Linked DNA regions of Homo sapiens: all the other regions are linked to region 1. Evidence: promoter capture Hi-C in 16 types of primary human blood cells and fetal thymus (Javierre and others, 2016). All regions are on one chromosome and are shown on one strand. Each heading gives the region's core, a stretch centred on a gene start or on the middle of the fragment in contact. The rest is flanking DNA. Distances are from core to core; before and after follow the strand shown. Region 1 holds the start of FXYD3 (FXYD domain containing ion transport regulator 3). Region 2 has its middle 4.8 kb from the start of LINC01766. Region 3 overlaps ATP4A (ATPase H+/K+ transporting subunit alpha). Region 4 holds the start of GAPDHS (glyceraldehyde-3-phosphate dehydrogenase, spermatogenic). Region 5 overlaps KRTDAP (keratinocyte differentiation associated protein). Region 6 holds the start of FFAR2 (free fatty acid receptor 2). Region 7 overlaps LOC101927522 (a long non-coding RNA gene).

Region 1 (4,122 bases), core at 462-2,961:
TGGGGGCATTTTCTCAGCTTCCCACTTACTCGCTCAATCTCTGCAGCTTAATGCAGGGGGCACTATTATTAGCCCACATTGCAGTTGTAATCCTGTAACCCCTGCAAATTCATCTTAAAGCCCTATGCTCTGTCGCCATGGCTGTTGAGTCTCACCTCTTAAGCCTCTTTCCAGGGGCTCCTCCAAGCCACCTCTGGCCTGCAAGGCCCCACTATACCCCCTTCCCATGATGTCATCCAGCCAAGACTGACAGATGGTATCCTCCTCGCCCCAGCCTCTGCAAAACAACGTCCAGTCCCATGCTTCCGGAGGCTGCAGGGAGCCGGGAGCTGGGTCTGCCCTCACGTTCCCCATTCAGGCTGTTGTCTGAAGAGGCTGTGGGCTGCTCCCGAACTGATGTGGTTGGTGAGCAGGTTAGAGAGGAAGGCAGCCCTGCAGCTGATGCTCTGTCTACCTGCTCTCATCCTTCCTGGCCATGAGGTCCCAAGGCCGGCCTGAGGACTGTTTCCCCCACCTGCCCTCTGCTATCCCCTCTATTCCTCCATACCATGGGAGAATGGTCTCATGTTCAGGGGTGGGTAGAAAGATCCTGCCCGCTGTGTGCTCCTGAAATCTCCCAAGCAACTCCCCATTTAAAGCTTCCCCCAGCAGCTCCATCCTTTTTTCCTGGAGGTCTCCAGAATCCAGATCCCTCAATGTCTGGACACCCCGAGTCCACCCAGCACTCCTTATCCACCCAGATCCCTCAATGTCTGGACACCCCGAGTCCACCCAGCATTCCTCATCCACCCAGATGTCCCCAGTCCATCTACGCACCCCTGGTCCACTTAGATACCCCTACCTACCCAGGCACCCCCTCTCCTCCACCCAGCTATCCCCAACCCAGATATCCCTAATCCATGCAGACACTAGTCTTTCAGACACCCCAACCACACTTATCAGTCCTGCCCTCACCTCAGCTGGTTCAACAAGTCCCTGAGAGGAGAATGGTGGGGAAAGGGACATTAGGGGAAGGGACTTCCGTTTATCTCCTGGCTCCAGAAAAGCATTTCACAAGATTTTAGGCGCTTTAACATAAAAGCTTCTATGGGGCAGGGTCAGGGGGCAGGTAGATACTTCCTAATTTAGGGGCAGAGACAAGGAGGGCTTGGAGGAAGGGGCCCCAGCTGCTCACCTGTGTGGTTCACCAGGCTGAGCAGAGGTTCCGGGAGAAATCGGGCTGCCAGGCGGAGTCCTGCGTTTATCCGAAGCTGCCACGCCCTAAGCAAACCTGGGCAGGTAGAAAACAAGTCAGATGCCCTGAGGCCCAGGGGCTCCATTCCTGCTCTTAAAGAGACAGCTTCACCCCCTCCCCAGCCATGGGCGGCAGGTTGCTCCCTGGGGTCACCAGGACCACAGCAGCCTCAGGTGAGACGGAGAATTGGATGGGCTGGAACTCGGCCCCTGGAATTAAGGGAGGAGCTTTCTCCAATCTCCTGTGCCCAGGAGAGGACCTTGAATGGGGAAGGTTCTGGGGTCTTTAAACGGCAGAGCCTCCAGGGCCATGCAGTGAGATGATGCGTTGGTGTTCCGACCTCACTTCTTTTCCTTAGATGATGTGTTTTGCCTGGTGGAAGGATTGCTGGCAGTTGTGGAGAACTTAAAGTCCCCTTCCAGGCCACATCTTGCCGCTGGTACAATTTCAGGATCAGCAGAAGATGCTAGCGTGACCAAAGTCAGGAGATGGGGCAGGGGTGGATATGAGGGAGCGGCTGGAACAGCAGGGAGGGGTCAGGGTGGGGACTCTGGGACCTTAGTCCTGGTCATAACCTGCTCCCTGCCCTGGGGAGAATGAGAACTGTCTGCCAGGCACCAGGCTGCAGTTTCCTAGCCAGGCTCTTTCCGTGGGTGCTGGGAGCCAGACGCCTGGGTCTACAGAGTGGGTGCTGGTGGGGGCGGCTGCCTCCTAGTCCACATAAGGCCCCCAGCACTGTACAAGCCTCCCTCCCCCTTTCCTCCCCTGTCTCCTGCTCCTCCTCCTCCAGGCATTCCTTCCGGATGGGGTCTGTGCAGGCTCCCCCATGGTCCCAGTTGGGGGTGCCCCCTCCCCTCAATTCCGCCTTCTTAGACAGAGGGACTTTTGTCTGGGGGCTGGATGGAGAACAAGGATCCTTTGAGCGGTTGGCGGAGGATTGGGGTCACGGGGAGGGGTAGGGCCAGGAAAGGGGTAGCTCTGCCCTGGACACCAGCTGGACTCCAGGCGACCCCAACACCACCGTGGGGGCGGGGAGGAGGGCTGCAGGGCCTGGCCAGGGAGAAGCAGCTGCTGGGAGTGTGGAGCACAGGACAGGAAAAGGGGGTTTGGGTCAAGGCTCTTCCGGAAACTGGCCTGCTGGGGGCAGAGAGAAGGACCCCCCACTTGTCATCGCTGAGGGATCGGGGAGGGCAATGTTCGCCCAGCGCTACACCCCTTCTCTATGTGGTTCCCTGGGGCAAGTTGTCAAGCCCAGGTCCTAGACAAGGGTAAGGCTCCCTCCTACCACTCTTAAGGCGGGGCCAGTTCCCATAAGGAAGCCGGGCGGGGGGACCTCGGGGTAGGGCTCTAAGCAACAGGTCCAGGAGGAGATAGAAACAGGAAGGGGAGGCCCGGAGGCCAACTCAGTATAGCTAAGGGGGGTCTTTGTGTCTGGGCGGATAGCGTCTCTTCCCTAGACCCTTGAAGCTTGTGTCTGGGACGACCCCTTGGTGGTCTTGGGAGTGGAATGGTGTCTCCCTCTGCTGGGAAGCCTGGGAACTGCAGGCATCCGAGAGCGAGTAGGGGCGTGTACAGGGTGGCTGGGAAGGGCGGGGGGTGCTCTGCCCTTCACCGGAACGGGGTGAACTGGAGAACTGTTGTCTAAAAATCTTGGAGGAACACCCCTGCCCGTGGTTAGATACAGAAGTATTTCCCAGACAGCTTGCTAAGGGGAAAAAAAACAAGGTATTGGGAAACCGTGCAGTGTGCTACCATTTGTGAGCGGTAAAATAATGCATATGTATATACTTGTAATGAATAAAATATTTTTGGAGATTGGCATCCATACCCATGGCTTCTGGAGAGGGAAACTGGGAGGCTGGAGGGTGGGGTGGAAGTGAGACTCACTCATTATCACGTGCCCTCTTATATTTTTTGAATTTTGCATCTTGAAAATGTACTACCTTAAAGGGGTTTAATTTAAAAAATTTGGTTCAGATTTAAAAAAAAATTTGCAGGTCAAAATTTCAACCTAAGGGCTGGTTTCAACCTGGGGGACCAGCAATTAGAGACTTCTGACAACCTCTGAATGTTCTGTAGTTTTAAACACCATGATCTTACATTCTGAGGTACAGACGTTTACGGTTTTTACCCAATCCAGGTCAACCATAAATTCTTCCTAGGCTGGACGTGAACATGCTGCGTCCAAGTGTGTGTTGGGCTGGCGCTGGGGCTTGGGTTTATGGTCAGAAGGACTCTGAGACCCTAGTGTGATGAGCACACTGAGTCTTAGGAAGGGCTGTGAGGAGTAGAGTTTGTGCAGTCACTTGCACCCTATTGGGGATTAGGTCTCATTTGGAGTGAGTCTTCTGGGCCAATCTGACTTCAGTTATGTTTTAAATGCATGTAGGTAATATGTTTTATTAATATATTGTATATAATATACATAATAAACATATTTGAAAAAGTTTCTCTCGTTTTGCTTTTGGAATCATTTGGGCCCAAAGAACCTGTTAAGGCTGTGAGTGGCTGTGATTTCTCCATATCCTGGGAATTCTTGCAAAATGAAAAAAACCAAACCTACAGATAGTTTCTGACATCATAAGTTTTTCAGGAACGCTGAATTAAAGCACAGAATCAAAGCCAGAGCATGTTATACCATCCCTGATTCAAACTTTTATTGATTTTGTTTCAATAATTTCGTTGCTCTTTATTCAAGGCTGGGAGCGTTTCTGCAGGCTCCTGGCCCTAGAGAGGGCAGCCTGGAGGCACCCCCAGCCATGAGAGGGGTGCTGGTTGGGTGGGGCCTTGCCTTTGCAGGTAGAGCCTGAGCGGCCAGGCTGACCGGCTGGGAGGTGTGGTCACAGCGATACGCCAAGGTCCCACTTCCTGGGCAAGATGGGGCTAGA
Region 2 (4,122 bases), core at 590-3,089, 480 kb before region 1:
GTGATGATGGCTCACTGCAGCCTCGACTTCCTGGGCTCAGGTTATCCTCCTGCCTCAGTCTCCCAAGTAGCTGGGACTATAGGCGTGTGCCACCACACCCAGCTAACTTCTTTGTATTTTTAGTAGAGACGGAGTTTCACCATGTTTTCCAGGCTGATCTCAAACTCCTGGGCTCAAGTGATCCACCCACCTCGGCTTCCCGAAGTGCTGATATTACAGGCATGAGCCTTTGAACCTGGCTATTTTTTTTTTTTGAGATGGAGTCTCCCTCTGTCGCCAGGCTGGAGTGCAGTGGTGCGATCTCGGCTCACTGCAACCTCTGACTCCCTGGTTCAAGCGATTCTCCTGCCTCAGCCTCCCTAGTAGCTGGGATTGCAGGCATCCGCCACCACGCCCAGCTAATTTTTGTATTTTTAGTAGAGACAGGGTTTCACCTTGTTGGCCACGATGGTCTCCTGACCTCGTGATCTGCCTGCCTTGGCCTCCCAAAGTGCTGGGATTACAGGTGTGAGCCAACGCGCCCGGCTCTGGCTATTTTTTTTTTAAGTGCATTATGAAAATATTTTATAACTTGTGTGTTTAGATCATGTGCCTTAAATATGATTATTGGTATGTTTTGCTTTAGGTCTACTATTATTTGTTTTTTATTTCCACTTTTCTGTGTTTTGTTCCTTGTTTTCCCTTTTCCTTCTTTCTTTTGGATTATTCAAATACTATTTTAGTACTCCATTTTAATTTATTTATTGTGATTTTCACTATATATCTTTGCAAGTTTTAAGTGATTGCTCTACGGATTATGGTAAACACACTTAAACATTCTATAGTCTACCTAGATTGAATATTTTGCAACTTCAAGTGGAATATGGAAAACTTCCACCATATTGGTCCCTTCATTGTCTCCCATGTATGCGTTAGCTTTCACATGCATTATAAAGACATGTATTGAAAATACATCCGTCCAGGGCTGTGGCTCACGCCTGTAATCCCAGCACTTTGAGAGGCTGAGGTAGGTGGATCACCTAAGGTCAGGAGTTCAAGACCAGCCTGGCCAACATGGTGAGACCCCGTCTCTACTAAAAATACAAAAATTAGCTGGGCATGGTGGTGGGCGCCTGTAATCCCAGCTACTAGGGAGACTGAGGCAGGAGAATCGCTTGAACCCAGGAGGTGGAAGTTGCAGTGAGCCAAGATCACACCACTGCACTCCAGCCTGGGTGACAGAGTGAGACTCTATCTCCAAAAAAAAAAAAAAAAGAAAAAAAAAAAACGAAAAGAAAAACGCCAGGCACGGTGGCTCATGCCTGTAATCCCAGCACTTTGGGAGGTTGAGGAGGGCAGATCCCGAGGTCAGGAGATCGAGCCCATCCTGGCTAACAAGGTGAAACCCCGTCTCTACTAAAAATACAAAAATTTAGCTGGGCGTGGTGGCGGGTGCCTGTAGTCCCGGCTACTCGGGAGGCTGAGACAGGAGAATGGCGTGAACCCGGGAGGCGGAGCTGGCAGTGAGCCGAGACCACACCACTGCACTCCAGCTTGGGTGACAGAGTGAGACTCCATCTCAAAAAAAAAAAAAAAAAAAAAAACCCTCCCAAAGTGCTGGGATTACAGGCGTGAGCCACCATGCCCAGCAGTCATTCCTTTCAATGGCAAAAACCGCAATTATTTTTGCATCAACTACACACACAGACACACACACACACACATATCTCATGTCACCTGCAGATACAGTTTTATTTCTTCCTTTCCAATCTAAATGCCTTTTTTTCTTTTTTGAGACAGAGTCTCACTCTATTCCTCAGGCTGGAGTGCAGTGTTGGTGTGATCATAGCTCACTGCAGTCTCAAAGTCCTGGGCTCAAGTGATCTCCCTGCCTCAGCCCCCTGAGCAGGTAGGACTACAGGCATGTGCCACCATGCTTGGCTAATTTTTTAATATTTTTTGTAGAGATGGGGTCATGCTGTGTTGCCTAGGCTGGTCTTGACATCCTAGTCTCAAGTGATCCTCCTGCCTCCCAAAGTGTTAGGATTACAGACGTCAGCCACTGCGCCGGGCCCTGTTTGCGTTTTTTTCTTGCAGTGACTAGAACTTCCAGCACTATGTCAAATAGGAGTGTCAAGAGCAGACATCCTTTCCTTGTTGTTGATCTTATAGGGAAAGTATTCCATCCTTCATCATTAAATATGATATATATTTGGTGTGTTTAAATCTATTATTGTTATTACTATTATTATTATTATTATTATTTGAGACGGAGTTTTGCTCTTGTTGCCCAGGCTGGAGTGCAATGGCGCCATCTCGGCTCACTACAACCTCCGACTCCCGAGCTCTAAGCGATTCTCCTGCATCAGCCTCCCGAGTAGCTGGGATTACAGGTGACTGTCACCACGGCTGGCTAATTTTTATATTTTTAGTAGAGACGAGGTTTCACCATGTTGGCCGGGCTGGTCTCGAACTCCTGACCTCAATTGATTTACCTGCCTCAGCCTCCCAAAGTCCTGGGATTACAGGAGTGAGCCACCGCGCCTGGCCGTTATTAATATTTTTGATGTTTAAGTTGTACCACTCTGGGCCAGTGGGCGCTCCTTCAAGTTAGCTTCTATGTCGAAAATAAAAATGATTTGTTAAGAGAAAGGTAAGTGATTAACAAGTGACTCCAGCAGGTAAAAAGATTGAATTGCTACTAACGGTCGATGGGAGGCAGTGTTGTCCACCTAGTGCTTAAGAACACGGCTTTTGGTGGCAGATTTCCTGGTTCCCAATCCTGGCCCCTCAGTGAATTCGCTGTGAGACCTGCACTGTGTCTTTCCAGCTCCCTGTGCTTTATCCTCAGTCTGTAAGAATGCAGGCTATAGGGTTAGTGTGGAGACCAAAAGAATCAATACTCCGAAGCTGCTCATAACAGTGGCTTGTACTTGACTCCGAGAGTTGCTGCTTTCACCATCATAGTGAAGACAAAGTACTCAAAATCTGCTACACGAAAAAGATTACAGGCCCAGAAGATTTTGCAGGCATGTTCACTCCAACTTTTTTTTTTTTTTTTGGAGATGGAGTTTCGCTCTTGTCACCCAGGCTGCAGTGCAATGGCGTGATCTTGGCTTACTGCAACCTCCGCTTCCCGGGTTCAAGTGATTCTCCTGCCTCAGCCTCCCGAGCAGCTGGGATTACAGTTGTGTGCCACCATGCCCAGCTAATTTTTGTATTATTAGTAGAGATGGGGGTTTCACCATATTGGCCAGGCTGGTCTCGAACTCCTGACCTCAGGTGATCCACCCGCCTCAGCCTCCCAAAGTACTAGGATTACAGGCATGAGGCACCATGTCCGGCCCACTCCAATCTTTAAGAAGCAGCTAATTCCCATGACATAGAAATGTTTCCAGAACACAGAAACACATTGAATGCTTCTCAACCCATTCTGCATTGCCAGCACTGCCCCAATGCAAAGGACTGAGAACAGCCCCCAGATGAAAACTATGTAGGACCCAAATAAGGCATAAGCAAACCATATCCATCACATATTAAAAGAATAATAGAGGCCGGGCATGGTGGCTCACGCCTATAATCCCAGCACTTTGGGAGGCTGAGGCGGGCGGATCACGAGGTCAGGAGATCAAGACCATCTGGCTAACACGATGAAACCCCGTCTCTGCTAAAAATACAAAAAATTAGCCGGGTGTGGTGGTGGGCGCCTGTAGTCCCAGCTACTCGGGAGGCTGAGGCAGGAGAATGGCGTGAACCTGGGAGGCGGAGCTTACAGTGAGCCAAGATCGTGCCACTGCACTCCAGTCTGGGCGACAGAGCAAGACTCTGTCTCTAAAAAAAAAAAAAAAGAATAATAGATTGTGACCCAGTAAGGTTTTCCCAAGAGTATAAGAATGGTTCATTGTGAATAACTTTGTTAAAGGATTGAATTAAAATCTCGTATGATCATGTTAATAGATGCTGAAAAGTATTTAATATGATTCAACACAAATTTTTTTTGAGACAGGGTCTCGCTGTGTTGCCCAGGCTGGAGTACAAGGGTGTGATCATGGCTCACTGCTGCCTCTAACTCCTGGGTTCAAGTTATCCTCCCATCTCAGCCTCCTGAGTAGCTGAGAATACAGGTACCATGCCTAGCTAATT
Region 3 (4,122 bases), core at 396-2,895, 440 kb before region 1:
AGGACCCGCGGGACCCGCGACACTTGCTGGTGATGAAGGGCGCCCCCGAGCGCGTGCTGGAGCGCTGCAGCTCCATCCTTATCAAGGGCCAGGAGCTGCCGCTGGACGAGCAGTGGCGCGAGGCCTTCCAGACCGCCTACCTCAGCCTGGGAGGCCTGGGCGAACGCGTGCTCGGTGAGACCCCTGGGCAGGGGAGGAGACTCCAGGTGCGAGGAGGAGCTAGCACAGACCCTGCCCACCACTCCCGGCCCAGCCCTGACCGTCCTCATCCCTGGCTGCTGGCTGATTTGTCGCAGTCCACAGCCTCACCCTTGACTTTCCCTGTACCAGTCCTGACCCCTGTCTGTCCTCACTTTCTACCTTGACCCCAGTCCTCACCTGGACTTTTATCCGTATCCTGACCTCTAACCTCTCCCAATTTTTGTCCTGACGCCTTAAACTTCGCTGCCTCTACCCTAGAAAGCAGATCTGTGGTCCAATTCTGGGCCTTTTACTTGCTGTGTGACCTCTGGCAAGAAATGTCCCCTCTCTGAGCCTCAGTTTCCTCATCTGTAAGATGAGAATGGGCCTCACAGGGTGGTTGTGAGGGTAGATTCAGATAATGTGAGTGAAGGGGTCAGCACAAGGTCAGGCATCCATAGGTGTTTGGTGCAAGGGGCCTGGTTATTTTACCCATTTCCTGGCCCTGCTAAGAAAGGGTGTGCCCAGGGCTCTTCCCTGACTTCCCCGTTTCCGGTCAGGCTTCTGCCAGCTCTACCTGAATGAGAAGGACTACCCGCCTGGCTATGCCTTCGACGTAGAGGCCATGAACTTTCCATCTAGCGGCCTCTGCTTTGCGGGACTTGTATCCATGATTGACCCACCCCGGGCCACCGTCCCTGATGCTGTGCTCAAGTGTCGCACCGCAGGCATCCGGGTATGCCACTGTGGGGAGGAACAAGTGGAGTGAGGACAGAGGATGGCAGCAGGATTTGGGTTGAAGAACCCCATGACAAACCCACCTGAAACTGGCTTGAACCAAAATGCATTGGTTTATGATACTGAAAAATTCTGGGGAATTAAGCTTCAGGTCTAGCCAGATCCAGGAGCTCAGTGTCATTAGGAATTTTCCTTTCTCCATGTCTCAGCTCTGCTGTTCTCTTTGCTGGCTTTATTTGCAGGCACTCCCTTCACTTGGGGACACACACACCCCTGCTCCAGCAGCTCAAACTTAACTCCCACCTGCTTAGCCACCCCACAAAAAGAGAGTGCCTCTTTTGCAGTAGCACTGGATTGGGTCACTCATTTATCCCTGAGCCAGTCACTGGGGCTGGGGGATGGAAGACCTTGATTGGCCAGGTCTGGGCTTACTTACCCAATCTTAGCCAGGGACCTCACTGCAACTGATGGTGTAGGGGAGAGGAGTGGTTCCCCAAACACAAAACAAGGGTGGGAAAGCCAAGGCCAGGCAGGCAATGCCCAAGCCCTTCCCGTGTCTCTACGGCCCTGTTACATCGGGCCTTGTTACCTTTCTAAGCTTGTTCGTTAGCCCTCTTTCCTTGTTCACTCCTCTGCAGTTATGGTGTCCTCCCTGCTGTTCCTCCGACAGTTCGGGCCTGTCCTCACCTCAGGGCCTTTGCACCTGCTGTTCTCCCTGCCAGGAGCACTCTTCTCCCAGCTTTCCACGTGGCTGACTCTCTCACCTCTTACAGGTCTCTGCTCAGATATCACCTTCTCAATAAGCCCTTCCCTGGGTACACTTAAAATCGAGTCACCGTTTCCTTCACCAAGCTTAATATGTTTTTTTCCACTTTCTAACACACTATATAATTCGTTTCTTTATTTTCTGTCACCCTCACTAGAGCTCCTCAAGGACAGGGATTTTTGTCTCTTTTGTCTCTGCTATATCCCAGGCACGTAGGAGGTGGTCACGCTTGGTCAAGTAAATGAACACGTGTATCAGCAGATGTCTCCCAGGGAGGACAGGGAGATTGGGCTGATCTGAAGGGGTCAGTGATCCACTGGTTCCCCCTACAGGTGATCATGGTAACGGGTGACCACCCCATCACCGCCAAGGCCATTGCAGCCAGTGTGGGCATCATCTCGGAAGGCAGCGAGACAGTGGAGGACATCGCTGCCCGCCTCCGTGTGCCCGTAGACCAGGTTAATCGCAAGTAAGCCCCCCCAGACCTCCCCGGGGTTCTCCCCACATCTGGCACAGACCGAGGTCCCAGCGAGGTCCTCCCATCTCCTCCCCAGGGATGCCCGTGCCTGTGTGATCAATGGCATGCAGCTGAAGGACATGGACCCATCGGAACTGGTCGAGGCCCTGCGCACCCACCCCGAGATGGTGTTTGCGCGCACCAGCCCCCAGCAGAAGCTGGTGATCGTGGAGAGCTGCCAGCGGCTGGTGAGCCCTGCTGATGAGGGTGGGCAGGCGGGCAGACAGGCGGGGCTGGTCTTGGACCGGCCTCTCACTGACCACCCACCCACCACCTGCACCCACTGCCTGCAGGGTGCGATTGTGGCCGTCACGGGGGATGGTGTGAATGACTCCCCAGCTCTGAAGAAGGCAGACATCGGAGTAGCCATGGGCATCGCTGGCTCAGATGCTGCCAAAAATGCAGCTGACATGATCCTGCTGGATGACAACTTTGCCTCCATTGTGACAGGCGTGGAGCAGGGTCCGAGCCACGCCAGGGGGAGGGCAGGCAGTGTGGGCACAGGAGGGAGAGGGCTGTGAGGAGGCTGAGGTGCCCACCCTACCCCACAGGTCGACTGATCTTCGACAACCTGAAGAAGTCTATTGCCTACACATTGACCAAGAACATCCCAGAGCTGACACCCTACCTCATCTACATCACCGTCAGCGTGCCCCTGCCCCTCGGGTGCATCACCATCCTCTTCATCGAACTCTGCACTGACATTGTAAGTCCACAGCCCAGGGTACCCATCCACAGGGTGCCCAGAGACACTTGCTTGCAGATGGACAGGAGGGACAGAGACCACCACAGACACTCTTGGGCACAGAGTGACAGACAAGACCTGTGTGTGCAATGACAGCCAGTGCAGGACACATGGGTGGCAGGCAGGTGAACAGACCTAAATGGACATACAGCCATGCACACACAGGCGGACACTCAGGTAGGCCCGGGCCGACCCATGCACACACATGACTCAGATACAGATACTCAGACAGAGATGGAAACAGAACAGGTATCTGGCCAAACTTGAATCACAGACACGTGCCCCTAAACAGACACGGACAAATAAACCCCCTCAGATAGACCCCATGGCAGACAGACAGAAAAGAACCACAGATACAGTCACGAATGCAGCCAGAGGCGCAGCTGTGTTGACAGGTATTTATTCGGTAACATTTACACAGTGCTTTCTCTGGGCCAGACACACCATCATTTCCTTAATTTTGTACTCATAACCACACTATGAGATGAGTTTTGTTACTATCACCCGTACTTTACTGATGAGCTCATCAAGGCATAGACAGGTAGAGTGGATTGTCCCAGGTCACTGGGCAAATAAGTGGCCCGGCTGTGACTTGAGCTTGAGCAGTCACAGGTCCCACAGCCTGTGGTCGTGGTCAGTATGCTCTGCTGCCACTCTAGGCACAAGCAGATGAAGGGGCACGGCGACACTGAGAGACTGAAGATACACAGAGATAGGGAGTGACACAGAAATACACAAGAGCAGATACAGTCACAGAGAATTACACTGGAGACAGGGACAGAGAAACAGAGTGAGGAACAGAGAAAGAGAGGGAGGGAGACAGAGGGAGAAGATAAAAGCAGATGTTCTTACGAAGATGGGCACCAGGATGCCAACACCCAGGGGCCAGTGGGGCCCAGGCTGTCCAGGCTGGTGTGGCTGTGCCGTCCCTGCAGGTCCTGCCTGCTAACCTCAGTCCTGTTCCTGCTCACAAGTGGGGGAAGGGGGACCCGAAGTGGAGGGGACAAGGGCCCAGCCAAACCCTCAGTCCCAGTTCCTTCCACTCCTGGCCAGTTCCCATCTGTGTCCCTGGCATATGAAAAGGCCGAGAGTGACATCATGCACCTGCGTCCACGCAACCCAAAGCGTGACAGATTGGTCAACGAGCCCCTGGCTGCCTACTCCTACTTCCAGATT
Region 4 (4,122 bases), core at 1,024-3,523, 420 kb before region 1:
CTGTATGGAGGCCCAGAAATCCTGTTTTTAATCAGCACTCCAGGCCGGGAGCGGTGGCTCACGCCTGTAATCCCAGCACTTTGGGAGGCCGAGGCAGGCAGATCACCTGAGGTTGGGAGTTTGAGACCAGTCTGACCAACATGCAGAAACCCCGTCTCTACTAAAAATACAAAAAAATTAGCCAGGCGTGGTGGCACATGCTTGTAATCCCAGCTACTCAGGAGGCTGAAGCAGGAGAATCGCTTGAACCCAGGAGGCGGAGGTTGTGGTGGGCGAGATCGTGCCACTGCACTCCAGCCTGGGCAACAAGAGCGAAACTCCATCTCCCAAAAAAAAATAAAAAATAAAATAAGCACTCCAGGCATTTCTTATCCTCAGGGAAGCTTAGAGAGTACCGTGTATCATACTCTGTGAAACCCATGGAAGCTCACATTGGCTCCCACCTCTCCACACACACTCCTGCTCCCAGACTGCACTTAAAAACACCTGCGCCTGGAGGTAGCAGCCGCCTGAGCTACAGAGGAGGGCTTGAGAAGAGGGGAGAAGTGGAGACTCAGGGGACCTGGTGGCAGAGAGTTTCAAGCTGGAAAGTCAAGCCTGGCTCAGTCCACACAGACCTGCTGCTCTGTGGATTTGAGCAAGTTAATGAACCTCTTGGGGCTGATCCCCCACCTAGGGGCTGCTGTGAGGGCGCAGTGAGATCTCGAGGCCCACACATAGGAGCTGATTTTAATAGAGGAGGGAAGTCTGATCCTACACAGATTCCTGAGGAAAGGGAGACAGCAGGGGGTGGAGAAGGGCTGGAAGGGGGTAGTGGGAGTCCAAGTTTTTGGCACCAAATCAAAGGCACCTGGGGGGTGGTGGGGCTGGGAGCCGGGGGCCAGCTGGCCTGTCTGTCTCCCTGACCTCTCCCTGTTGCCACAGACCTTGTGGCCTGAGGCTGGACTATAGGTGTTTCCAGTGGCTGTCCAAGTTCATGAAGGTGTTAGTGTTTATTGGTGAACTTGAGGATGTTTGCATCCTTGGGGGTTGTTTCTGCTATGGGAGAAAGGGGATTTGTCCACCTGGTTCAGGTGGGAATCTGAGCCCAATGGGTGACCCTTCCGAAGAAAACTCAGATGGTCCTCCTCTCCCAGCACTCCCAGCCTTGCACTCTCTTCCCCTCCACTGTAGGGGTGGGGTCCCCCGGTTGGAGAAAAGCCTGGGGGCTAGCTGGGTGCTGCCCCCAGCTCCTCACTGCGTCCTCCCACTGAATCCCGAGAGGCATGCGCTATAAACCCACTTTACAGAGGGGAAAATGAAGCCTGAGGCCACGGAGCAGTGATGCGCAGGGCAGGGGTTCAAGTCTCATGAGGCTGGTAAGCCTGTCTGCTCCTGTGTCTTCCAGGGTCTCCTGGACCAAAGCCCCAGCCCCACCTACCCCTGCGGCCCCCGCCCTTGGGAAGTGAGGGAACAGTGTGGGAATGGAGGCAGCCCACCGGAAGACCTGGTTCCTCCGGCTAGAGTGAGTGAGTGAGTGTGTGTGTGTGTGTGTGCGCGCGCGCGGGCGCGCCGCCCTTGTTGAGAGACTAAGGAAGTAGTTTGCCCTCTCTTAACCTCTGTTGGCCGCTCTGTAAACTGCGGGCACACTCTGGCCTTCTCAGGTGGTGGTGAGGCTTCCCTGAGCTCTCGCCTGCGAAGTGGTCAGCACGTCCCCGGCAAGGTTCCAAGTGTCCTTGTTTTGTGCATCACAGGGAGGGCAAAGCTCACCTCACGCGAAGCGCCATGAACATCACTTTTACATGGAAGCCCAGCACCCCTGGGTTCTCCCTAAGCCCCTCCTAAGCCCGCCCACTTCCCGCCACTTTCAGGCTGCAGCCTCCGATGGCCCTCGTTTCTGCTCTTTCTACCGCGTGATAGCGGCGCGAAGCCCACCCAGCCCTGGGGGCGGAGGCCCGGTCTCCCCGCCATGGCAGTAAACCCCACTCTGCCAGCACACTGGCGGGTGTGGAGGGAGGGAGAGCGGCTGATCCCCTGGTCCCTAGATGGTGCACACGCCAGGAAGGGCGGTAGGGATACGGCACAGGTGTGAGGGTGCAGACGCTCCCCACTACCCTTTCCACCCCTCCCCCGCGCCCTCCGCTGCCTCCCTCACCCGGGCACGGCTGTCGCAGCAACTGGACAACGGTGACATTGGTGAGGACGATGTCGCGCTTCGACATGGCCTCTTATAAGGTTATCATTGGCCTGGACCTGCTGTGATGTTACCGAGGTGCGTGCGGAGCGCCAGGGCTGTGGGTCCTGGGCTAATTGCCCTGATGTCACAGCACCCAGTGACGTCACAGTACCCAGTGACGTCGCCGAGGGGCGGCGCCCAAGCCAGAGGCCTGACACCATCGCATCCCATCCCCGTAGAGGCATGGGACGTCAGCACGCTATGCATCACCGTTCCACGGCCACGCACTGCCGTCTGGAATGGAATCCCACTTTTTAAAATTATCATTTGTTTATTTATTTTGAGACGGGGTGTCACTCTTTCTCCTAGGCTGGAGTGCAGTGGTGCAATCATGGCTCACTGCAGCCTTGAACTCCTGGGCTCAAGCGATCCTCCCGCCTCGGCCTCCTGAGTAGCTGGGACTACATGTGCAGCCACCACTGCAGGCTATTTTTACTTTTTATTTTTTTGTAGAGAGAGGGTCTCACTCTTTTGCTCAGGCTGGTCTAGAACCCTTGGGCTCAAGCGATCCTCCCACCTCGGCCTTCCAAAATGCTGGGATTACAGGAGCGAGCCACCACACCCAGCCTGGAATCCCACCTTTTACACTGTTCCTGAAAGCCCTTTCCTCTTCTCTGTCTCTTGAAGCACACAGGTTCCATGCTGTCCCTTGGATTCTCCAGTGGAGTGACTCTTGCTGCCTCCGTATGCCTGGAAGGCCCACCCAGGGCTTCCCTTGGCTGCCTCTTGGTTTCCCACCCTTTAAGAGAGGCTTTCTACACTCTGCATCTAAGTTCCCTCCTTTCTCTGTCACTGTCAGCCGTCACCCCCTTCCCAATTTCTGCCCATCTTCCAGGAAGCCTTGTCTGACTTCTCCATTCTGAGTTATGCTTCAGTGTGCAAAATTTCTCTAGGGCTACACTGTCTATGTTTTTATTTTCCTTAGAGCACATGTCTCTCTAAAAATTGTTTGTTTTCTTGCCAACTGTCTCTGTCCACCAGACTGTAAGCTCTGAGAGGACAGGGACGTCATCTATGTCACTTCTGTATCCCATTGACAAGAAAAGTGTTTGGCACCTGAAAGGTGTTTGTGGGCTGGACGCAGTGGCTCATGCCTGTAATCCCAACACTTTGGGAGGCTGAGGTGGGAGGATCATTTGAGTCCAGGAGTTTGAGACCAACATGGGCAATGTGGCAAAACCCTGTATCTACAAAAAATAAAAAAAGTAGCCAGGTGTGGTGGTGCATGCCTGTTGTCCCAATTATTAGGGAGGCTGAGGTGGGAGGATCACTTGAGCCTAGGAGGTCAAGGCTGCAGTGAGCTGTGATTGTGTCACTGCACTCCAGCTGGGAGACAGAGCAAGACCCTGTCTGAAAAAGGCGTTAGCCCAATAAACTATACCTGAATGAATAAATGTCAATTCCTCAGGTTTCATCTGATCGCTAATCTTTTCTTTTCTTTTCTTTTTTTTGAGACAGAGTTTCGCTCTTGTTGCCTAGGCTGGAGTGCAATGGTGCGATCTCAGCTCACCGCAACCTCCGCCTCCTGGGTTCAAGTGATTCTCCCGCCTCAGCCTCCTGAGTAGCTGGGACTACAGGCGTGCGCCACTACACCTAGCTAATTTTTTTTTTGTTTTTGTATTTTTAGTAGAGACGGGGTTTCACCATGTTGGCCAGGCTGATCTCAAACTCCTGACCTCAGGTGATCCATCTGCCTCGGCCTCCCAAAGTGGTGGGATTACAGGCGTGAACCACCTCGCCCGGCCCTGATCGCCAATCTTATCAAACTCTTCACGTTATATCTTCTCGCAGCACCCATTCTTTTCCTTGTAGCTTTTCATGTAGTTTGTCATGATCTACTGATTGGTTTATTTGTTCGATGTCTCCCCCTTGGGCTCTAAGCCCCTCACAGGGCTCCTGTTCTTGTT
Region 5 (4,122 bases), core at 557-3,056, 370 kb before region 1:
TTTTCCCCGGCCCTCCAGCCACGAGTCTGTCCTCTCTCTCTTTTTGCTTCTTAGCAACTTTCCTAACACCCTGCGTTTCTGCCTAGGCCTTTAACACCCCGTTCCTGAACATCGACAAATTGCGATCTGTGAGTACGCTTCTCTGGTGCTACCCCCACGAATACCCTCATCACAGAGGGGATAAACGCCTTGGTAGAGAGCTTGCAAAGCTGCCACGGTTCCTTCACCTTCTCCAGAGGGCTGGGGGCTAAGCTCTGGCCTCCCCTGGAGCTGACCTGCTTCTGCTGTCTCTCTTCCTCCTCAGGCGTTTAAGGCTGATGAGTTCCTGAACTGGCACGCCCTCTTTGAGGTGAGTGCTCCGGCGCCCCTTGCCCTCCTCGGTTGTCTGCAGTCATCCCAGGGTAGTGGCCACACATTTTGGCTTTAAATGTATGGGTTGGTTCCTGATCTCTGGGAGGGAGTGACTGTCCTGCCTGGATGCTGCCCAATGGGCTGTCAACGGAAGAAAGCTTCCCCCGGCGCCAGTCCTGGCTACCCGTGTTTTCCTAAGATGGTGGTGGAGGAGCAGGGCCCCAAGGACAATTGCAGAAGAGGAAGAGGCTAATCGGTCAAGATTTTATTTGAATCCCCTCATCCTCTATGGAAAAACTGAGGCCCACCCGCACTTAGAAGGCAAAGTCAGCGACAGAGCTGGGGCCCGCGTCTCCTGACTCTGCACTGACTTCTCACATGGCCTCATGCGAACGCCTTCAGCTCCCTCGGCCTCCGCTTCCTCTGTGATGTGGGGATGATGACAATTCCCACCACAAAAGGTTGCTGTAAAAACCCACTGAAATCATGCTTGTAGAGCAGCCCGTGCAAGGCAGACACAGACTAAGGCCTCAGGAAATATTAGCTCTTGATAAAGTAATGACAAAATAATGACATTATTGTTACTATGGTTACTGTGGGAGTTCATTAAGGGAATGCTTACCCATCCATGCCCGGCTGACCTGCAACACATCACTCTCTTTCTCTTTCTTTCTTTTAGTCTATCAAAAGGAAACTTCCTTTCCTCAACTGGGATGCCTTTCCTAAGGTAAGAGGTGTGGGCATTAGGAGGGTATGGAGCTTGGGGGTAAGGGAAGAAGCAGAAGATATGGGAGAGAGAGTGGGGACAGGGAAAGGAGGATCAGCCTTCTCACCAAACTGAAGGGAGGTCTTAGCTACTACATATAGAGGAGAACGGGAACTCACACCGAGGCAGAAATTCCTTTCCATCCATGCCATCCTATACTGGGCACCCACGGGTTCCCCATCTAACCCTGACCCCTCTCCCTCTAGCTGAAAGGACTGAGGAGCGCAACTCCTGATGCCCAGTGACCATGACCTCCACTGGAAGAGGGGGCTAGCGTGAGCGCTGATTCTCAACCTACCATAACTCTTTCCTGCCTCAGGAACTCCAATAAAACATTTTCCATCCAACAGCTCCTGTATCTGCGTCTCTGTCCTCCTACTGGGCTTTACAAAGGAATTAAGATGGAATGAGCCCCAAGGCTGATAGGTAGAAATCTTGACTTCCAAGAGGAGAGTAAGTAGGGAGACAGGAGGAAATAGAAAGGACACACCAAGATGGCAAGAGACCCCCTTGTGTCTTAGCTCCTTAGTGTTGGCTGGGATCCTTGAGGAGCATGAAGCTATGACTTGCTTAGTAAGATGCTCAGGGAATCTCTAAACCAAAAGGTATCTGAGACAGGTCTCATTCTCTTAAGGGGGAGCTCCTGGACCCAGAAAACTGTCCTGTTGGTTTGAGCAATAAAGACAGCTCAAACCAGTACCAAGCAACGATAGATTTGTCAGAGGTCAGGGCCACCTCCATTCAGAGGCCATTCACGGGTTGCCAATTTGTAACCCAAAAAGTATCTGAGACAGGTCTCAATCAATTGAGAAGTTTATTTTGCCAAGGTTAAGGACAATGCCGGGGAGAAAAAAATACAGAATCAGAGGAACAGTCTGTGGTCTGTGCCTTTCTCCAAAGATGATTTTGAGAGCTTCAGTATTTAAAGGGGAAAAGCGGGGAAAGAGGGAGGGAATGGTCACATCACTGAATCCACATGTTATAAGAGAAAAGGAGCAGGTAGGGGAATAGTCCATTATATATTTGTCTCATGCTCAGTAAATCCAGCAGTTTACATAAGATATGGTGAACATAGAATAGCTATCTGTTGAGATAGTTAACCTTTTACCTGTAGCTATCTGTTTAGGAACAAAAGGAAAGGCAGCTTCTGGCATGTCTCAGCTTTCGGCTTATCTTTTTTCCTTTCGACAGAGTGAATTGGGGTCCCAAGTTTTTATTTTCCTTTCACAAATCAAACCTACTCCCTGACCTGTTGGCATTCCCCCTTACCTACCTTCTGAAAACCTGATTCCCTTTGTAGTGGCGATTTTGTGTAACAGAGCTATCTGAAATCCAAAGTTCAGGACCCAGCTTCAATCACATGAGCCCATCTGAAATCCTTTTTTTTTTTGGAATTAGGTGGGCTCTAAATAAAGAAAACTAGCAGCGTGACCTTGAGTCTTCCTAAGCCTCTGTTTCTTTATCCGTGAAATGAGTATGGAGATAAATAAGAATGATAACCACTCTGTGGTGTTGTTATGAAGGTCAAATGACATAAGTATATAAAGCCCCTTGCACACGGCCAGGCATATAGTAGATAGTGTATCTCTACTCCCCCAGTTTCAACCAGAGAGCAGCCGCAATGATCCAGATTCACTCATTCACTCGCGCATCCATCCATCCACCCAGCCATCCACCCACCCATCCACCCATCCACCCACCCATCCATCCATCCATCCATCCATCCATCCATCCATCCATCCATCCATCCATCCACTGCAAAGATCTTGAAACATGAAATGGATTTAGTTTTGCTTCCTGTAGATGTATTTTCTCTGACCCAATTTGTGTACTTAAAATACTAAACTAGTTGGAATTGTTTCTGGTTTCTCTTGAAAACTGGGAAGATTAGAGAACAGTGGACCTGCGACTGGCTTAAAGCCAAGTAGCAGCTGCCCTCTTTACACAGGACATGGCTTCCAGGGAACTTTCTACTTGGCAAGCTTCACTTGTTTACATTGCCTTTGGCCTTTATAAGCAACTGCGTTTGTAAACCATCAACTGCAGTTTAATCGAGGAAGTGGACTACAAGGGAAATTAAACTTGGTTCCTACTTTCAAGGCGCTTACAGACCAGGTGAATGAGACATGTAAATGTTCCTGGCCGGGCACGGTGGCTCACACCTGTAATCCCAGCACTTTGGGAGGCCAAGGTGGGTGTATCCCTTGAGGTCAGGAGTTTGAGACCAGCCTGGGTAACATGGCAAAACCCCATCTCTACTAAAAACACAAAATTAGGTGGGCGGATCACATGAGGTCAGGAGTTCGAGACCAGCCTAGCCAACATGGTGAAACCCCATCTCTACTAAAAATACAAAACTGAGCCGGGTGTGGTGATGCATGTCTGTAATCCCAGCTACTCAGGAGGCTGAGGCACGAGAATCGCTTGAATCCGGAAGGCGGAGGTTGCAGTGAGCCAAAATTGTACCACTACACTCCAGCCTCGGTGAGAGAGCAAGACTCTGTCAAAAAAAAAAAAAAAGTTGCTTATGCTCTTCCTTCCAATACACACAAAGGAGAGGAAAGCTATAAATGGAATAACCAACAGAGAAGAAAACTATGGACACTGGTGAAATGCCACAATCAGTTGAAATACTTAGTGAAGATTGTGCACTCACAAACTAGGTGATAGGAAATGGAGTACAGGAAGAAGAGGGGAGGTGCTTAAGGGACACCCATCGAGTGACTAGGTTTTAGGGGAGGAGTAAAGCATCCCCAGGGGACTAGGAGTCACGATACACAAGTTAAGAGTATCTCTGAGATAAGGCGGTAGTTCTCAAAGTGTGGTCCCCACGCTGGCAGCACCAGGATCCCCTGGGAACTGAAAAGAAATGCAAATTCTTGGGCCCCACTTCAGATCTACTAAGTGCGAAACCAGGGGTGGGGCCCAGCAATCTGTGTTTTGACAAGCCCTCTAAGCAAGTCTGATTCACTAAAGTCTGAGAACCACTTCAAAAAGGAACGTCA
Region 6 (4,122 bases), core at 1-2,500, 330 kb before region 1:
GATAGGTGGCTTCTTGGGATTGGTTCTGAAGGGAGGTCTGCAAGCTTCCAGGAGAGAGGAACAGAGCTTTAGCCCCTGCTTCTGTCCATGCCATGCAGGAAAAAATGGTGAGGAACCTGGCTGGTAGTAAGCATTTATACTAGCACCAGCCACGTGACCAGAGAAAGGAAGGTCAGTCTTTAAGCACTATTTCCTCTCAAACCCAAAGGAAAGGCCCAGCATCTTTATTCTCTCCCTAGAGAATCCTCACTCTTGACTTCCAAATTCAGATTTTTCTGTCCTTAATTCCTGATTTAAAAAAAAAATTCCCAGGCATTTTTCTTTTTTTACTTCCCAAGTCAGATTATTTTCTTTTCTCTTTCTTAGGCAGTTTCTTCTGTCATTCTGCTCATTCTCAGAAATGAGCTTTCCTCCTTCCTTTTTATTTTTCCTCTTTTTTTTTGGTTTTTTTTTTCGAGGCTGAATCTTGCTCTGTTGTCTAGGCTGGAGTGCAGTGGCGCCATCTCAGCTCACTGCAACCTCTGCCTCCCGAGTCCAAGCGATTCTCCTGCGTCAGCCTCCCTGGGATGACAGGCACCTGCCACCACGCCCAGCTAATTTCTGTATTTTTAGTAGAGACAGGGTTTCACCATGTTGGCTGGTCTTGCACTCCTGACCTCAAGTGATCCGCCTGCCTTGGCCTCCCAAAGTGCTGCGATTACAGGCGTGAGCCACTGCACCCGGCACTCCTTCCTTTTCTTCTTCAATTTTTTTACTTTCTCTATGGTCTCCTGCCCTCTGCCCCCAACACATTTCTTTTGCCCGTCTCAGCTGAAACAGGCTGGTCCTGGCCTGCATCTTGTTGTGATGGAAATGGTGTGGGAGTTATAGTCATGCAGATATGGGCTCAAATCCAGGTCCCTTCATTACAACCTTGGGGGCAGATCCGTTTTCTGAAGTCTAGTTTGCTGTAGTCAAGTGAGCATGCGAATTCTGACATCCTAGGACTTCTGCGAGGATTCAGTGAGGTTGTGTATATAAAGCACTTAGCAGATGCCCGTAAGTGCTGCCTCGTCTCAAGCCTGTAACGCAGCTTCACAGAGAGTGAGCCACTTGGTGCAGCCTCCAGAGGCTCAGGGCATGGATGTGCTGTCCCTCTTGGGAAAGTGTCAGGAATTCAGGAGGCCCGAGTTCACGTGCCCATGTGGCTTTTCGTCAGGGAGTGGCACTCAGGCTCCATTCCTTTCCCTGATAAAGTCTCACTGTTTCCCCCTCTCTGACCTTGGTAGCCCCAGGTTAGGAGCTCCTGAAGGTCCCTTTGAAATACACACCTAATGCAGCAAGGATCGTTGGAACGTGTTTTCCTCTTGAACTAGGGAGGAAGTCTCAGAAAGAAGTCTCTGTTCTGCCATCTGTGGCCTGATTCCTGCTCACAGAATCCCCATTCTTTCCCTAGGACATACCTACTTCCTATTGTTTGCCATTCATTCAGTCATTCAGTCAGTCAGTCATTTATTCTTTTTGTGGTCTGTAACCCCAGGGTCTAGACATTTTGATATTTAGCTTTTCTTTCTCGTCCACTCTACTCTCCTCTGAAGGCGTTCTAGTTCTTTATTTCCTTCCCCCAGCACACGTCGCTTCTCAGATCAACAGGAGAACTAAGAAAGAGACCATTCTCTCTTGTTGCCACCAAATTTATTTGTGTCATTTCGCTTTTATGATTTCCTATAAACATGCACGAGGATCTGGATTTAATTGCAGAATCCAGGAAACTCATTGGAAAACAAGTGTTGAGGAGTGGGACTGCCTCTCTGTCTCTGCACGTTCTTCTCCCCCCACCTCCTGCCTTTCGCCGTCACTGTCGTGAGTCCCCCTGTGGAAGACGCCCCAACGAAACCCCCTCTCTGGGTTCACAGCAGTTATGAATGTTCACCGCAGTTATGAAGGGAGCATCACCAAGGAGGCTTTCAGTCTCACAGTTCATGATGTCCACCTACGTCACAGGAAAAGGAAACCCAACCTCTCAGACCGAGTTCAAGGGGGTAAACTTTCACAAGAGCAATATCCTTCACAGTTCCTTCCAAGTTCAGTTTTCTCTCATCGTCTTTATAATGCAGCCTGTCATCACAGGAAGTTGGACCCTTATCTAAAGTTCTGTGTAATCACTTCCACATTCTTAATTCTCACTCGCCCCTCAGTCCACCCTAATCTGGGTTCTGTGCCTATTTTCCATGGGATTTTCTCTTCCCGATGTTAGCAGTGACCTCCATGTTCCTAAATTCAGTGGACTTACGCTTTTCTTATTTTATTAGCATTCAACACAATTTCCACGCCCTTCTGGAAACATCCTCTTTTCACAAATTCTGATACGTTACGCTGCTAGCTTCCCTCTCTTTCCTTTGGTCACTTCTCGTACCCCTTTGCTAGCTCACCATTCCCCTACTCATCCCCGAAATGGTGACTTCCTTCAAGCTTGGCTCCAGGTTCTTTCCTGTTCTCGCCTGTGCTCTCCTTCTAGTCGACTGCAACTGTTTCCGTAGTTCCAGTTACCACCTTCATGACACCCCTGGTTTGAATCTTCACCCTAGGTTTCTGTGAGCTTCACATGTACACGCTCAACTGCCTAGTTGACACTGCCATTGGGTGTCTCACAGGTGTCCCAAATCAACCAAATCAAATGTGTCCAGACCTGGCCTCAGATCTTCCTTCTTCCACCCTTCCCTGTCTTGGGGCGTAAGATCTCTTCCCATCACATCTCCTGCACCATTATCTTAGAGTCAGTCTTTTTTTTTTTTCTTTTTAATTTCGAGACTGAATCTCACTCTGTCGCCCAGGCTGGAGTGCAGTGGCACATAGTCTCGGCTCACTGCCACCTCTGCCTCCCAGATTCAAGCAATTCTCATGCCTCAGCCTCCCGAGTAGCTGGGATTACAGGCATGTGCCACCACACTCGGCTAATTTTTGTATTTTTAGTAGAAACGGGGTTTCACCATGTTGGTCAGGCTGGTCTCGAACTCCTGACCTCAAGTGATTCGCCCGCCTTGGCCTCCCAAAGTGCTGGGATTATAGGCGTGAGCCACTGAGCCTGACTAGAGTCAGTCTTAAAGTGAATCTCAATATTATCTTCTTCCTTATCCCTAGAATGCAGTCTGATGTACTCCCCAAATACTTATGGATTCCAAATATGAATCCATCCATCCGTCTCCATCTCCATCATCCCATCTCAGTGCCATCATCCCTACCAGGATTTCAGCAGGGCCCTGACTCACTTCCTCTCATCCATCTGCTTCCCTGGCAGTCAGTTCTCCATACTGTATTAGTGGAATCATTTTAAAAATGTCAATCCAATTATACGACCTTCTTGTCCTTTCAGAGACTTCTCACTGCTTTTAGGAGAAATATCAACATCCTTAAAAAGGCCTGCCTAGCATGGCCCTTGCCAGCTTCCACTCACATCACTCTTCTCTCTCTTTGCTGTCTGGGCAGGGCCATTTTCCACTTCTGTGAATGTGTCATGTTTTCCATCTGCCATGGGGAGCTTGAACCAGCCCCTGCCTGGTATGTCTTTATTTCTTGTTACCCATTCCAACTTTCACAGTTAATTTGTAGCTTTCTTTCAGATAACCATTTACTTCCTTAAGAAATCCCTGTCTGGCTGGGCACAGTGGTTCACACCTGTAATCCCAGCACTTTGGGAGGCCGAGGCAGGTGGATTACCTGAGGTAAGGAGTTCGAGACCAGCCTGGCCAACATGGCGAAATCCCGTCTCTACTAAATATACAAAAATTAGCCGGGATAGTGGCGCACGCCTGTAATCCCAGCTAGTCAGGAGGCTGAAGCAGGAGAATCACTTGAACCCAGGAGGCGGAGGTTGCAGTGAGCCAAGATTGCGCCACTGCATTCCAGCCTGGGCGACAGAGCAAGACTCTGTCTCAAAAAAAAAAAAAAAAAAAAAAAAGGCCCTGACCTCCTAGATTTCGATTCCCCTCTTACAGGTTAAGCATCTTTTCTATTGCTGAATAGTATTCTGTTTTAAGGATATTTCCTATTTTATTTATCCATTCATCTGTTGATGGATATTTGGTTGGTTTGGGTTTTTTTTAAAAAGTTTTTGTCTAGTATGAATACAGCTGTTAAGAACAT
Region 7 (4,122 bases), core at 761-3,260, 320 kb before region 1:
TCTTCTCTGAACACACAGTGGTCAGGGTGCCTGCACAGGGAAGGGCACCACAGTCCACCCTGGGAAAGGTCTTCAGTCTTCGGGAAAGAGCCTGTAAGCACCTTGACTGCTCTTCTTCTCTAGGGCAGAGAGCTTTCTTATCCACAGGGGTCCTTAGTCAGAGAGAGGGAGCGCACTCGGTGAGCTCTTTCAGAGGCAGCAGAGCCCTCTGCCTCTCCCCAAATCCCTGCTCCTACAAGTCGAATTAATCTCTCCTAGAAATCCAAGTCCTAACTTCTTCCAGGCGTCTTTTTACATCCACTGTTTGCATAGCCCACCCTTTCTTCTTTGGAGGATCCCCTCAGGTAACTTCCATCTGCTCCTCAGTGTGTCTTACCCCTTCCTTCTGTTCTTTCTTCACCTCCCTCCCTCTCCACCTCCACACTGGACTATATCAAATTCCTGTTCATTTTTTAGCATGGCCCAGTCAAAGCAGGTTAATCTCTCAGTCAGCAGAGGACATTTCACAAAAATTGGGGCCGCTAAATCACAAAAATATTCTCTAAGTCCAGGGCCAGCCCAGAAAAAATGCCCCAAGTCCAGGCAGCCCCCCAGAGTCTGCCGCCGTCTGGAAAATCCGGCTCAGCTCTTGCTCCTGCACATCCTCTCCTTTCCAGTGCTCTGTGTCTGGTCCCTGTCCCACCTCCTCTCCTTTCCCCAGTGTCTTCTGTCTGAATTCTGTGGGCCCAGGACAGCCCCAGCCTTCTCAAAGTCACCTGCATGTCTCTTGGATTAGGCAGCTGAGTGCAAGGTAACAACCAGATCATGCATTTTCATCTCTCCATGGATGGTTGGGGATAGAGCATCACAAGACAGGCATTGTGGCTGGGTGTGTTGGCTCATGCCTATGATCCCAGCACTTGGTGGGAGACCAAGGCAGGTGGATTGCTTGAGCTCAGGAGTTCAAGACCAGCCTGGGTAACATGGTGACACCTGATCTCTACAAAAAAATACAAAAATTAGCCAGATGTGGTAGTGCATGCCTTTAGTTCCAGCTACTCAGGAAGCTGAGGTCAGAGGATCACTTGAGCCCAGGAGATCAAAGCTGCAGTGAGCCTAGATTGTGCCACTGCACTCTAGCCTGTGGGACAGAGTGAGACCCTGATTTTTTTTTTTTTTAAAGGCAGACATGGTTCTTGCCTTCATGAAATTGACATTGTAGTTGTGGGGAGGGGTGAGACACTAGTACAGTCTCTACAGTAATATAGGAGGTAATGTGGGGCACGCTTTCGGAAGGAAATAGAATTGGATGATAGAATAGGGTAATCTGTGCTGGGGGCAGCAGGGAAATGTCCTTGAAGGGGTGACATTTGAGCCGAGGCCTGTAGGTGCTCTCCATGGAAGAGCTGGGAGAGGAACACTCGGGGCAGATGGGACATTTTTTGCAAAGGCCCTGAGGCGATACGAAGCTTGGTGTGATGGAGAAACCGAAAGGAGGCCAGTGTGGCTGGGGGGGTGGGGTGGGAATGAGCATGAGGGAAGTGATGGGAAACCAGGTCAGAGACGTGACAGCTGGGGGTGGAGGGGGTGGAGGGAAAACACATGGTGCAGGGCCCTGTTGTCCAAGGTGAGGATTTGGATTTTATTCCCAAAGTCATAGGAAACTCTTGAAGGGTATAAGGCAGAGGAGTAAGTGATCTGATGTATGGGTTTCATTTCTTTTATCATGTTTTATTTTCTTTCTTTATTTTTGTATGATGTGTGGGTTTTAAGGATTCCTCTGGCTTCCTGTTTTGTGCAAGTGTCTTGCCCCACTGTCTGTCAAAACTTTCTTCTTTCCCTGCCATTAGGGAAGCCCTCATGATTCAGCAGCTGCTCATTTCTCTTTCTCTCTCTCTCTCTATCTCTTCTGGCTTCACCGTCCTCCTGCAGTTGAATCCAAAGCTCATACCAATCTCTGCACAACAGCCAATAAATCAAGAGACGAGATATTGGGGGAAGGAAAAATGACATTATTTCAGAGAGCCAGCAGACTGAGGAGATAGCAGACCTAGTGTCTTGAGAACAATCTTAAGTAATAGAATTTTGGGCTCCTTTTACATTAGGGAAGGGGGAAGAGAGTGAGGTTTAAGATCAAGAGGTGACCGATGATAGCGGACATCTGGGTGGCAGTGAGTGTCCGAGGAGGGGCACTGTGCAACTTCTTTGTCCTGCTGAGGTCACAATGTTCCTATAAATCTTTAATATGATGTAGCTGCTAGTGTGTACACCCTCCTTATCTCCTTGGGGGTGAGTGTTGGGAAGGGATTATTGTCATCCTTGCTTTAAAGTTAAACTGTAAACTAAATTCTTCCCATGATTAGCTTGGCTGATGTGCAGGAATGACAAAGACCATTAGCTTGTGAGGTTAGAAGCAGGGTGGAGTCAGCTATGTCAGATTCTGCTGTTACACTCCATGCAGACCCACTTTCTAGATGAGGAGGGGGAGCATAAGTGTACTTTGCGTCTCTTGACTGTCCTCACATCATCTGCTTTTATTATTTTCTGTAAATGTTTATCATGTCCTGGATTTGAGTGAATACCACAAGCTTCCTGGCAAGGAGATGTTGATAAAAATGAGTACGGCTTTCCCCTTGAGTTTTGTCTCGCCTGGCCTCCTGCCCATTCTTGACTAGATGGAAGGGACCACAGGCTCTGAGGATGATCGAGGAATCTCCACTTGGCGAATAAGTCAAGCCACACGCGGTCTCGTGATCCTTAGACCCCTTCAGTGTCCTCCTCTCCACTCTGGTCACCTAGGGGGCATTCCTACCCTGCCCCTCTCCAGGTGTTCAGCCTGGGTAGGCGGGAGAAGGAGGAGGCGTTTCAGGTATGGGAGTACGAACCTGGAGCAAGGCTGCGTTCCTCCTGCTTTCTGCCAGCTGGCCTCACCTTCCCCCTTTTACAGCCTTCCCGTCTGATCTGGCATGAGGAACGTCAGGCTTCCATGACGCACCCCGCCCCTGTCACGTGCACATCTTTCCTAGGGTTAACAGGGGATCGTGCTGAAGACAGACTCTCCAGTGCTGCGGAGTATTCAGAAGCCTTTACATTGGCCAGTGTTTGTTCCCAGCCCTGCTGAGCCACCCCGTCTAGTATCTCTGAAGAGTGGAGGGTGATGCGGGTATTTGGGAAGAGAGAGTGTGGGATGGGATGGGGGTAAGTACATTGACAAAGCATGTTTCATGTTATTTTATATTTGAAGAACAAAACCAAAAACAGTTGTTTGCATGGCATGAAGTGGTGAACGTCAGCTTTTGGTTTATTTTTACGAAAGATTGAGAGGTACCAAGAAGGGAAGATGGCGGGCCAAGTCCAGCTGTCAGTGGGGGCTGTCCCCAACATTTATTTAGGCTGAGCTTCAAGCCTCTCTCCACGTCGCTAGTTCTTTCACAATTCCACCCCAGTCCAGCGCCCTCTTCCATTAGTAGAGCTGTCCATAACCCATGTGGGAACGCATGTAGGAGCTAAACACGCAGGTTTTGAGGTTAGACTACTGGGATTCACATCTCAGTTCCCATCCCATTGCTAGCTCTGGGTTCCCTGGCAAGTGACTTAACCTGTAGCTAAGCCATTAAACTCATGATTTCAGGGGTTAAAAGCGTGGAATCTGGAGCTGGCCCTGTGGGCTGCAGTCCTGGCGGCTACTTGTTGGCTGTGTCACCTTGGGCAAGGGCACTCATTTCTCTGGGCCTCAGTTTCCTCATTTGTAGAACGAGGAGACTAATATACCTACCTTGTAGGTTTGCTGTGAGGATTGAAATGAATATGTATATGTTTGTGTGTATGTGTATTACACATCTTTACACAACCACATGTTGTGTGTATACATATGTTTATAGTTGTCTATAAACATACGTACTGGGCTGGGCTGGGGACAGTGACTTATGCCTGTAATCCCAGCACTTTGGGAAGCCGAGGTGGGCAGATCGCTTGAGCCCAGGAGTTCCAGACCAACCTGGGCAATAGGGCAAAATCTCGCCTTTACAAAATATACAAACGAATTAGCTGGGTGTGGTGGCATGTACCTATATTTCCAGCCACTTTTGAGGCTGAGGTGGGAGGATTGATTGAACCCAGGAGGTTGAGGCTGAAGTGAGCTGT

The links. The method cuts DNA at HindIII sites, captures the fragments that hold promoters and counts their contacts. A CHiCAGO score of 5 or more calls a contact.
Region 2: a contact is called between a fragment that was not itself captured here and the fragment with the promoter of FXYD3 in region 1, in 5 of 17 cell types (naive CD8 T cells, total B cells, total CD8 T cells and 2 more). The highest score is 8.0, in naive CD8 T cells.
Region 3: a contact is called between a fragment that was not itself captured here and the fragment with the promoter of FXYD3 in region 1, in 4 of 17 cell types (total B cells, naive B cells, naive CD8 T cells and 1 more). The highest score is 7.7, in total B cells.
Region 4: the fragment with the promoter of GAPDHS here is called in contact with the fragment with the promoter of FXYD3 in region 1 in 2 of 17 cell types (naive CD4 T cells and monocytes); the score reaches 5.8 in naive CD4 T cells.
Region 5: a contact is called between a fragment that was not itself captured here and the fragment with the promoter of FXYD3 in region 1, in 8 of 17 cell types (total B cells, naive B cells, total CD8 T cells and 5 more). The highest score is 9.9, in total B cells.
Region 6: a fragment that was not itself captured here is called in contact with the fragment with the promoter of FXYD3 in region 1 in 5 of 17 cell types (naive B cells, total B cells, total CD4 T cells and 2 more); the score reaches 11.0 in naive B cells.
Region 7: a contact is called between a fragment that was not itself captured here and the fragment with the promoter of FXYD3 in region 1, in 1 of 17 cell types (total B cells). The highest score is 5.3, in total B cells.

The regions. Positions count from the first base shown.
Region 1 is chr19:35,113,412-35,117,533 of GRCh38, reverse strand. It overlaps FXYD3 (FXYD domain containing ion transport regulator 3), which reads right to left and starts at 1,711. Exons shown (of 9, transcript NM_005971.4): 1 at 1,575-1,711; 2 at 1,175-1,270. LOC124904701 (hepatitis A virus cellular receptor 1-like) reads right to left here. Exons shown (of 3, transcript XR_007067238.1): 3 at 3,865-4,122. The HindIII fragment of the contact is 1,620 bases long and covers 1,084-2,703 here.
Region 2 is chr19:35,591,033-35,595,154 of GRCh38, reverse strand. No RefSeq gene overlaps it. Among named protein-coding and RNA genes, the nearest start is that of LINC01766, 4.8 kb to the left of the region's middle. The HindIII fragment of the contact is 9,877 bases long and covers 1-4,122 here.
Region 3 is chr19:35,553,707-35,557,828 of GRCh38, reverse strand. It overlaps ATP4A (ATPase H+/K+ transporting subunit alpha), which reads left to right. Exons shown (of 22, transcript NM_000704.3): 11 at 1-174; 12 at 741-916; 13 at 2,017-2,153; 14 at 2,239-2,389; 15 at 2,495-2,663; 16 at 2,753-2,907; 17 at 4,000-4,122. Among named protein-coding and RNA genes, the nearest start is that of ATP4A, 7.9 kb to the left of the region's middle. The HindIII fragment of the contact is 254 bases long and covers 1,519-1,772 here.
Region 4 is chr19:35,531,607-35,535,728 of GRCh38, reverse strand. It overlaps GAPDHS (glyceraldehyde-3-phosphate dehydrogenase, spermatogenic), which reads right to left and starts at 2,273. Exons shown (of 11, transcript NM_014364.5): 1 at 2,135-2,273. The coding sequence starts at 2,201. RefSeq lists an enhancer at 1,287-1,416. The HindIII fragment of the contact is 5,250 bases long and covers 386-4,122 here.
Region 5 is chr19:35,484,668-35,488,789 of GRCh38, reverse strand. KRTDAP (keratinocyte differentiation associated protein) reads left to right here. Exons shown (of 6, transcript NM_207392.3): 3 at 87-128; 4 at 305-349; 5 at 1,031-1,078; 6 at 1,324-1,466. The coding sequence ends at 1,362. Among named protein-coding and RNA genes, the nearest start is that of KRTDAP, 3.7 kb to the left of the region's middle. RefSeq lists a silencer at 3,972-4,061. The HindIII fragment of the contact is 2,590 bases long and covers 512-3,101 here.
Region 6 is chr19:35,444,244-35,448,365 of GRCh38, reverse strand. FFAR2 (free fatty acid receptor 2) reads right to left here and starts at 109. Exons shown (of 2, transcript NM_001370087.1): 1 at 1-109. RefSeq lists an enhancer at 2,073-2,152. The HindIII fragment of the contact is 2,407 bases long and covers 47-2,453 here.
Region 7 is chr19:35,428,719-35,432,840 of GRCh38, reverse strand. LOC101927522 (a long non-coding RNA gene) reads left to right here. Exons shown (of 7, transcript NR_187751.1): 4 at 3,006-3,177. Among named protein-coding and RNA genes, the nearest start is that of FFAR2, 17 kb to the left of the region's middle. The HindIII fragment of the contact is 1,119 bases long and covers 1,451-2,569 here.